2 separate regions of the Homo sapiens genome follow, and region 2 is linked to region 1. The links are contacts of gene promoters, found by promoter capture Hi-C in blood cells and fetal thymus (Javierre and others, 2016). All regions are on one chromosome and are shown on one strand. Each heading gives the region's core, a stretch centred on a gene start or on the middle of the fragment in contact. The rest is flanking DNA. Distances are from core to core; before and after follow the strand shown.

Region 1 (5,262 bases), core at 1,837-4,336:
GATTGACTAGATAAAGGAGTGATGGGAAAAGGGATGAATCCTGAGCTTCTGGTTTGGGCAACAGGATGAGGGACTGTTTTACTATCTATATTTCTACCCATATGAGATAGCAAGTATAAAAAGGGCTGATTTGGGGTAAAAAACTTTTATATCAGATATGTTGAGTTTGAGGTGCCTATAGGACATCAAGATGCAAATGTCTAGTAGATAGCTGTCTTGAGCCACATCAAAGTTAAGAAGAGAAAACTGGGACTGCAGATTTGAGTCATGAGTAAACAGGCTAGTTAAAACAGGCTAGTTGGATGTGATTGCTTGGGGCAAGCATACTAAGTAAGCAAGAAGTGGGCCAAGGATGAAACTCTGGGGAACACTTATATTTTAGGAGCAGGCTAAGAATAAAGATCCAGTGAAGTTGATGGGAAAAGAACAGTCTAATAAGAGAGCTGGAAAACTAGAAGAGAGTAGTTATTACAGCTAAGGGAACAGAGAGTTTCACAAAAAAGGGAGTTTACAGTGATGCAATTGTCAATAGCCAGTTTATGAACTGTTTGCCAGTCCACAAGAAGACTAAAGAGCTTGGACCACAATGTAAATTAACTGCTTCCTTCATTAACAAAATCAAGAAAAAAAAAGAACAGCTGAACAAAACAGTGTATCCTGTGACATAAATGATTGAGGCAGCGCATAACAATACACAACAGAGTGACCAGCAGATATACAGCATTCACTCTTATTTTTGGTGAACAAATGAGACCTTAAAACCTACTGGACTTTTTATAAGCTTGGGAAACTGAAAACAAACAAGGAAAAAAAGAACCTACTGGACTTTAATAAACCCAACATGCCTAATTTTACAATTAGAATTTTCTTTCTTTCTTTTTAAATATAGATGGGGTCTCACTTTGTTGCCTATGCTGGTCTTGAATTCCTGGCCTCTCAAAGTGCTGGAATTATAGGTATGAGCCACCATACCTGGCCCTTAAAATTTTCATGGTGGAACTCTTTTGCACTCTTTGATCAAACTCCTTTGTTTCTTCCACTTCTATTAAAAAAAAAAAAAAACTTTACTGGAGTATGACATATAAAAAGCTGTACATATTTAATGTATACAACCTGAGTTTGGTGACAAGTATATCCCTGTGAAACCATCATCACAATCTACACTATAAACATATCCATCACCTCCAAAAGTTTCCTCCTACCCTAATAAATTTTTCTATTTATCTTCATTTAATATAGTTCCTTTATCCTTAGTTAATAAAGAATGCTAGAGGTCACCCCCTCTCCCCATAAAGTGTTAACTATCTAGAAAGGTCTGCTAATCAAAAACATTTCATTCTTCTCCTCTATCCTGGGAAAAGTATAAAACAGATCAAAGAGGCCAACAATATTTGGTACATTTTACATAACACTTTACACAGATGAGAAGAATGTAGGTTCTAAGCCTATAACTGCTTTACTGAATTTCTCATAGCGGACTTGCAAAAGTTATTCTCTGTGGATTTCTTTTTTCTTGTAAGAAAGCTGATACATTGAAATTTATAAAGCGAAATGTCAAAAGTTCCAGTAAAAAATTATGATTTCTCAGGTATATTTGTCTCTAAATATAAACAGCAAATAAGCAAGCACCTGAATTCCATCTAATCTCTTCATTCTTGTAAAAATAGTAACAGCTGACCCCCTAAGTATGCAGAGAAAGGAAATGTCTGTGTTTGGTGTCAAAAGTTATTGAGCCAACCAAATACAAGAAACCTCTCCCTCCCACAGTTGCAACCACACAAACACAAACTGGTGCAGTGGAAAAAAAATCACTGGGTTAATCAGGTGTTCCAGATCCTAGTTCTGGTACAACATTTAACTAGCTGTGTAACTCTTGGCAAATTTGTTTCCTCATTTATAAAATGAGGAGATGGGGCTGGATGATTACCAAAGAGCTTTCAAGGTGTATCTGTGTTATTAAAATTTCATGGGGGAGTTATTAAGAAAAAATGTTTAATAAGACTCCTTAGGAAGGTAACAGTGAAAAAAAAGTTGAGAATCACTGGTCTAGAAGTGAGAGTATATAGCAGTATCTCATCACCTCAACTCGTTCTAAAAACAAATAAAAGCTTAGTTATTTTCACAAGTTTCTATGTAGGGGCAATCAACATTTTATTGAGCACCTCCTCTCTGTAGTGGACACAGTGATAGATGCCTACGTTGTTTCAAATCCTTTATCTTCACTATTTCACTTAATCCTCACAATTAAGTCAATCATCCTTAATTTACAGATTAGAAGACTGAGGGTCAGATATTACAAATATTTTGTGCAAGGTCTTAAGGCTAAAAGTGACTGCTCGAATAACTAGAATCCAGGTTTGACTCCAAAGCTGATTCTTTCTACTTCACTCTTTTGCTTTTCATTACTATGATATTCACCAAAGTATTACAACTGGTAGACCTGTAATTATGTAAAACACTAAACTTCAACGAGTTTAGTCATCAAAAAGACACTAGATTATTAGGTAATTTTTTTAAAGATCTATCTTAAGTAAACGGGGAGGCTTCTTTGTACAGAAAAGTAGAGTTCAGAAGCCGTGATCCCTGGGATCCGAAAAGACAAAAAACCAGAATCAGCTGAAGGAAGTACTGAGGAATTTTGACATTAGTCTTCGCATATTATGGATTTGCATTCTGGCCGACAAAGATTCTCTAGGCCACCGGTCTCCTCGCTGTTGCAGAATAAACGCTGAGGACCCGCTGCGTCAGCGAGCTGCTCAGCAGAGAAAGGCGAGACCACCAGGGCTTTAGGCCTAGAGAAGCGGAGGCTGTCCTAGGGATCTCAGAGACACCATCACTTTCACTTCCAGCAGCCTCTGGGAAGGCGGTCCCTGTGGGCCTAATCCCTCCCCGGGTCTGTTTACTCACTTTTTTGATATTGGATTTGGAGGCAGGATGAAAGTCTTTCTTGCACATGAAGTTGGCGAAGGATTTCCCCATCTTGGAACTGGAACTAGGGAAAGCAGGGGCTAGATCTGTTAGCAACGTAAACAAACTCAGCCGCCTAACCGGAACTGCGTTTCCAGCAGCAAGGGGGAACTTCCGAGATCAAAGGTGACAGCTTCCGGCAACTGATGCCTCCACTGGCCACTCCTCCCTCCGTCCACCTGTCACTTCGGGTAGCTGGGAGGCCAGGTGAGGGGCGCGCACGGGGGAGGGGCGTGCATAGTTGAGACAGAAACCCGGAAGACCCAACTGTGGCGCGGCACTGCTTGACCGAGGGGCTCCGGAGCCCAGCTGCACCGGCTGCGGTTTGAGCGCCCAGGGCCGGGGTGCGGGGTGGACCGCGGCGGCCCTTCGACCAAAGGTGCTTGAAGCTCGAGCCCATTACTTTCTGTGGACTCTGACTCGAGCTGCAAAAGCTTTTCTGCACTGTTTTTCTCATCTATGTTATGAAGATAATAATTCCGGCCCTAACCGTAGTATGCTTGCGAGAATCCAACAATATGATGTTTCTGAAAGCGCCGGCTGAACTAAGAGCGCGTGAAATAGAATGACAGACAGCTCTGCAAGAACGGAGGCCCTGTCTATTTTGTACCCAGCTGTACGGTACTGGCGCCGAAAGACGTTCAATAAATACTTATTGAATGACGAATACGCGTTAGGAGTTGGTAAAATCTCTCAAGGCTTCACCTCCTCAGTGGGCTAGGTGCAATTCTAACCAGGGGGCAAGTTTCCTTAGCTTTCCCTACGACCCCAGTTAGGCAGCTCAGGTTACTATTGCAGCTTGATGGCCCTTGGGACTCCAGGTTTTTGAGTGGACGTGGCTGCTACTGCAGCAGGTGATCCACCAACCAAGTTCTCTATCAGGGTAATGTTAAGAATAAACCTTGGCCGGGCGCGGTAGCTCACGCCTGTAATCCCAGCACTTTGGGAGGCCAAGGTGGGTGGATCACCTGAGGTCAGGAGTTCAAGACCAGCCTGGCCAACATGGTGAAACCCCGTCTCTACTAAAAACACGAAAAATTAGCCGGGTGTGGTGGCACGCGCCTGTAATCCCAGCTACTCGGGAGGTTGAGGCAGGAGAATCACTTGAACGCGGGAGGCGGAGGTTGCAGTGAGCCAAGACTGCTCCATTGCACTCCAGCCCGGGCAACAAGAGTTAAACTCCATCAAAAAAAAAAAACAAAAAACGAATAAGCCTTTATGAGAAATTTTCTCTCCTACCAAATAATAACAATAACAGCTTTCATGTGAGTATCTACTATGTTCTATGCACTGTGCAAAACACTTTACGTGTTGCCTTATTAAGTTCTCATAACAGCCCATCAAATAGTGTCTTATTTTTCTGATGAGGCAGAAGGCATAGGTAAGAGAGAGATTAAATAGTCTGCCAAAGTTATATAGTGATAGAACTAACTATAAAACACAAATAGAAGGAGATCCAGGACATAAGAGTTGAAATACAGAAAGAAAATAACAGAAGCCATCAAGACATCAGACTTCTCGTCACTGAGGAGAAGAGGAAAACCCTTAAGAGTTTCAGTCTGAAGTTTTTATTTAGTCATTTTCTTTTCTTTTTAAGGAAACATTTATTATATTTAAATTTTGTTTTTAAGTTGCTAGCATCTGCCTGTGTAAAGCCATTTTAAGGTTTTGCCATTATTAAAGGAAAGAAGGAAACTCTGTAAAACAATGTGTCTGTTCTGGCAGCAAAATAAGGACCTTTAGGTGTTCTATTATAAGTGAAGATCTAAGATTTTCCAAGTTACAACTGAAGAGGTAATCTAGATATTAAAGTATATAATTGCGATTTATAAATTAAATATGTGAACTTTCTCCTAGAAATATCAGCAATTTGGAATTATATTGACATATTTTTGTCTGAATCAATGAGTCTGTTTCAAAATTTCAGTCTCATCAGAATTATAATGTGTATTATTTCCCAGCTCAAATAAGACCCCTTCTTCCTTCCTTTGAGGAAGTACTGGGCACGTAAGATTTTTTTCCATAAGACAAGTTCCAGCAAAGAGAATATAAAGATTAGTAAGACATACTCCCAGCCCTCAAGGATCTCATTGTCCAGTAAAGGGATTTATATATACACGAATGTAATGGAATCTAGCCTTTACAACAATAGAGCTAGGTACACGGATTCCCAAATATGGAAATGGTGAAACGAAATTCAGGGAAGACTTTAGGAGAGAAAGGTCTTAGAGAATAAATGTGAACTATACAGTAGAAGAAGGTAGTTCTCATTGCCATTTTCTTACTGAGTTGTAG
Region 2 (5,262 bases), core at 786-3,285, 2.5 Mb before region 1:
GGGTCTCGCTCTTGCCCAGGCTGGAGTGCAGTGGCGGGATCTCGGCTCACTGCAAGCTCCGCCTTCCAGGTTCACGCCATTCTCCTGCCTCAGCCTCCTGAGTAGCTGGGACTGCAGGCACCCGCTACCACGCCCGGCTACTTTTTTTGTATTTTTAGTAGAGACAGGGTTTCACCATGTTAGTCAGGATGGTCTGGATCTCCTGATCTCGTGATCCGCCCGCCTCGGCATCACAAAGTGCTGGGATTACAGGCGTGAGCCACCACGCCCGGCCTATGACTGTAATTTCTTGTGTATCATTAGGTTTCAAGAAAAAGGATCTTGAAACCTTTTCTTGGGATCACGACTGTAATCCCAGCACTTTTGGAGGCCGAGATGGGCAGATCATCTGAGGTTGGGAGTTCGAGATCAGCCTAACCAACATGGAGAAACCCCGTCTCTACAAAAATACAAAATTGCTGGGTGTGGTGGCGCATGCCTGTAATCCCAGCGACTCAGGAGGCTGAGGCAGAAGAATCGCTTGAACCCGGGAGGCGGAGGCTGTGGTGAGCTGAGATTGTGCCATTGCACTCCAGCCTGGGCAACAAGAGTGAAACTCCGTCTAAAAAAAAAAAAAAAAAAAAGAAAGAAAAAGGATCTGGGCATTCTCAGTACCTTTTCTGATCTTTATCTTCAGGAAAGCCATCTCTATATAGTTGAGCAAATAAATACTGGGCTGAGTATCTGATGAACTGCACTCTGCATAGGTTGCATACTGAGAATGAACTTGGGCAGTTTATCTTTTCTGGGCTTTGGTTTCCTCATCTCTAAAATGAGAGGGCGTGTTAGTTCTAGACCATCATCCCAAGGGTCCATTTTAGCTTTAGCGTGCATCACTGTAAAACCTGTTAACAAATATTTGTTGAGATAAGGAATTCTGGTGTATAGCCAACATTGTGGGAATATTTGTGGATACCTAAATAGTGGTTTATCCTCTGGGGAAAGCAGTTCCTACAGCTACTAAATACTAACAAGGCCTATGGCTAAAATCAGGTAGCACCTTGTGATGTAATTCAAACCACTAGGACATGTGGCATGCAAGACTACATCAGGCTACTTGAGGTATTTATTAGGTAACAATTTTTTTTTTTTTTTGAGACGGAGTCTCACTCTGTTGCCCAGGCTGGAGTGTAGTGGCGCAATCTCGGCTCACTGCAACTTTCGCCTCCAGGGTTCAAGCGATTCTCCTGCCTCAGCCTCCCGAGTAGCTGGGATTACAGGCGCCTGCCACCATGCCTGGCTAATTTTTGTATTTTTAGTAGAGACGGGGTTTCACTATGTTGGCTACACTGGTCTCGAACTCCTGAGCTCAGGCAATCTACCCGCCTCGGCCTCCCAAAGTGCTGGGATTATAGGCGTGAGCCACCGCGCCCGGCCTAGGTAACGATTTTTGCGCGCTAAACGGTTCTTAGTAACCTGCAGAGTGAAAGCAGAGTACCTAAATATCATACTGTATACGTTAAAAACAGGGGAGAAAGGAAAAAAGGTGTTAAAGTTTACAGCAAAATGAGAAACAAATGAGGAAAACAAGTGAAAGCTTCTCCCGCAACTGAAACTCAACCTCTACATTTTACCTAGGTAAAATGGTAAAATTGCCCACAGGGCTCAGGTGTTTGGATGCACTGTCCAGGCCAAGAGGAAAGATTTTCAGCCAGTCTCCAAAACATCTCAGGGACGGGTATGGAAAACAGGCGTAAAGTGTCTGTATTGATCAAATCAACCCCAGAGAAACTTTCCTAGGGCCAGAGAGCATCTCAACCGCGAAAGTCCGTTTGCGGCCTCCTTCTCCACTTCAGGCCTGCAAAGCGGCTGACGGCATTCGCAGTGGCTAGGCAACGGCCCGCGCAGACTTCTCGGCGTTAGCCCCGCCTCTTGAGGCGCTTCCGCCGCCGGGCTCCTGGACACGCCTCCTTTAATTGGCTAACGTCACGCTGGGAGTGGGCGGGGAAAATATGTCAGACTGTGCGGTCACTTCCGGCCCGGGAGCGCGCGGGTTGATTCGTCCTTCCTCAGCCGCGGGTGATCGTAGCTCGGAAATGGCGGGTAAGTTACCGGGAAAAGTTTACCAAGGGGAGGAGGCGGCCAGATCGGGGATAGAACGCCGAGACGGTGGTGACAATGCCCGCCTAGAACTTTCGGGCTGTAGCCTGGGTTCCAGAAGGCCTGCTTGGGACCGGAAGCGCGGAACTCTCAGCCCAGCAGCTCCTTGTTGGCGGCGGTCCGCGCCCCCGCCCCCAACTGCTTGGGGTTCTGCGCCTTCTGCCAGCAATCCGGCCCCTACCGAGGGCCGAAGACGCCAGGGAAAAGCGTCATGATTTGGGCTCGTAAAATGCCACATGCCTTGGGGCCTGTTTCTCTTCCCATTCCTTTTGTCCACTGCTGCTTGCTTCAGCTCTTGTACATCTGGTCCTGTTCCCGCCAGCTGATTTTAATGCTCAGATCCTCCTCCTCTTCCAGGTCTCCGTCTACCTTCCACTACAGTCAACTTCTGAGCTAGCGCATTGCTGCCTTGCCCTGCTCTGGCGCTCCCACTTGGATCTCGACTGACTTCGTAGTCGTCTCGTTAATCTGTCACACTTTAGTATTCCGAGGATCGTATTTAGATGCCCTTTGAGAAAGACTTTGTTCCTGAACTGCTCCCTTCTCTTTTAGGGTTGGACTACTATAATACAATTCTCTTGTGTACATTCTAGAGACCCTTCAAGTTACAACATTTAATAATGTATAATTGCTATTACTTTGTACGTGTATTAAGGCTGTTTTGGTGTGATTATTTTTTTCGATTACTTATCTTTTGAAGTTATGGACAGTTTCTTTTTCCTGAGACAGGGTCTCTCTGTCGCCCAGGCTGGAGTGCAGCGATCATAGTTCCGGGCAGCTTCCAACTCCTCGTAGGCTCAAGCGATCCTCTTGCCTCAGCCTCCCGAGTAGCTAGGACTACAGGCATGCGCCACAACATTCGGCTAAAAAAAAACAATTTTTTTTAACCTTTTAGAGACAGAGTCTGGCTGTATTGCCTCAGGCCGGTCTGGAACTCTTGGCCTCAAGCCATCCTCTCGCCTCAGCTTCCCAAAGTGTTGGAATGACAGGATTGAGCCACTTCGCTGGCCTTTGTTGCTTTTATCATCTCTTTACAGGGCATTCCTCATAGTCTCTCTACATTAACCATTCCATTTTTATGAATATGTGGGATAGACAAGCTGTTGTGTGAGCTCTACAGATGTTTAAAGAAGGACTTTTCTACCAGATGGAGATTGTAGGATCTTGAAGTACCACAGAAGAGGGAGGACGTACTCTAAGAATTACATCTAAATTCGAATTTTGGGCCCATCATTTAGTAGTTGGATGCCCTTCAACTAAACCTCTTTCTAAGCCTGAACTTTTGAATGTAAAATGGGGTTGATGTAATACCTACTTATAGAATTGTGCAGATTGAGCTAATATATGATTTCACAGGTTAAATTTTGTTGCTTACATTCCTCGAAGTAAATTCTGTAATCTCGGTTCTGTAGATTAGGGTCAGAGGGGTTAAGTAATGTGCTCTAGTTCCCTGAGCTTACTAGCTCAGTAAGTGTGTGAAATAGTCAGAATCCAGGAATTCTCACTCCAGACTATTAATCTGTACTGCTTCAAGTCTTTCCCATTTTCTGTGTGTGTGTTTTAACCCCTTTTTGAAGTTTATAGCACATCATTGTACCCCTTTTTATTTTTTGCTTATGGCTTTTTTCTGTCTGAATTTTTACTGATTTTTTTTTTTTTTGGAGACTGAGTCTCGCTCTGTCACCAGGCTGGAGTGCAGTGGCGCGATCTCGGCAACCTTTGCCTTCTGGATTCAAGCAATTCTGCCTCAGCCTCCGGAGTAGCTAGGACTACAGTCACGCGCCACCACGTCCAGCTAATTTTTGTATTTTTAGTGGAGATGGGGTTTCACCATGTTGGCCAGGATGATATCCGTCTCGACCTCGCGATCCCCCTGCCTCGGCCTCCCAAAGTGCTGAAATTACAGGCGTGAGCCACCGCGCCCAGCCCATTTTTACTAATCATATGCCCATTTTGTCAGGAGATTTGTTATCTTGAAAGTTTCTCTTGATAGTGATATCTTCCAATGTTATTTATTATGTATATTATTGAGTAGCCACTATGTAGTAAAACTATTGTGCCAGTAGCTCACAGTTTATGACTTTAGGCATACATGATTTTTAAATATTTAATACAGTGGAAAGATGTTTTCTTTGTGCCCCTGTTCCTCTTCCTTCTTTCTTTACCCATGGTAACTATGGTTACCAGATATTTGTGTATTCTTCTTGAGACATTCCATGCATTATCATTTCCTTATCTGAAGCACTCTGGTAGACTTTTTCCAATACTTAAAATGAAATTCTGTCATAATTATCAGAGGACATTCTCATTTTGCTTTTTACATCTTATAATGAAAAAGACGACTTAGGTATAAATCCTAGCAGGTAATTTGTATTAGTACATGTTCAGAAATGTTAGTAATCTATCATGTTAATTTTCAGGTTTATTCATTTATATTAAGTATTCCTAGTTTATAAGCCTGTATCTCAAAAGTGATTTCTTTTTCTGTTTTGTAATGAGGCATTCTTTTTTTTTTTTTTTTTTTTTGAGATGGAGTCTTGCTCTGTCGCCCAGGCTAGAGGGCAGTGGCATGATCTCGGCTCACTGCACCCTCTGCCTCCTGGGTTCAAGAGATTCTCCTGCCTCAGCCTCCCAAGTAGCTGGGATTACAGGCGCCCGTCACCGTGCCCGGCTAATTTTTGTATTTTTAGTAGAGACGGGTTTCACCATCTTGGCGAGGCTGACCTCGAACTCCTGACCTTGTGATCCACCCACCTCAGCCTCCCAGAGTGCTGGGATTACAGGCGTGAGCCACCGTGCCCAGCTGGCATTCTTAATACATTTATTTAAGAGTATGTGGAGAATGACTTGTGCTTTTATGATCTATCAGCATGTTTTAAATCATACCCCTATTCCACTTATAATAACCCTATTGCAGGTTTGACAATTTAAGTCACTTCCAAACTAAACCTTTTAAAAACCTTTTCTCTTAGGATTTGGTGCTATGGAGAAATTTTTGGTAGAATATAAGAGTGCAGTGGAGAAGAAACTGGCAGAGTACAAATGTAACACCAACACAGCAATTGAACTAAAATTAGGTATGTATGCCATTTCTAAGTGATGTTATGTACATACTGTGTGTGT

Evidence for each region. Contacts are between HindIII fragments. The CHiCAGO score rates a contact against its expected background, and 5 or more counts as called.
Region 2: a contact is called between the fragment with the promoter of HAT1 here and the fragment with the promoter of SCRN3 in region 1, in 1 of 17 cell types (non-activated CD4 T cells). The highest score is 6.2, in non-activated CD4 T cells.

What each region holds. Positions count from the first base shown.
Region 1 is chr2:174,392,644-174,397,905 of GRCh38, forward strand. SCRN3 (secernin 3) reads left to right here and starts at 3,087. Exons shown (of 8, transcript NM_024583.5): 1 at 3,087-3,174. It overlaps CIRSR (corepressor of RBPJ and splicing regulator), which reads right to left and starts at 3,069. Exons shown (of 10, transcript NM_004882.4): 1 at 2,908-3,069. The coding sequence starts at 2,979. RefSeq lists enhancers at 2,968-3,017, 3,515-4,015. The HindIII fragment of the contact is 1,293 bases long and covers 2,107-3,399 here.
Region 2 is chr2:171,920,426-171,925,687 of GRCh38, forward strand. It overlaps HAT1 (histone acetyltransferase 1), which reads left to right and starts at 2,036. Exons shown (of 11, transcript NM_003642.4): 1 at 2,036-2,082; 2 at 5,112-5,216. The coding sequence starts at 2,076. It overlaps LOC105373740 (a long non-coding RNA gene), which reads right to left and starts at 1,964. Exons shown (of 3, transcript XR_923579.2): 1 at 1,614-1,964; 2 at 655-806. RefSeq lists enhancers at 1,472-2,120, 2,261-2,310. The HindIII fragment of the contact is 14,743 bases long and covers 1,575-5,262 here.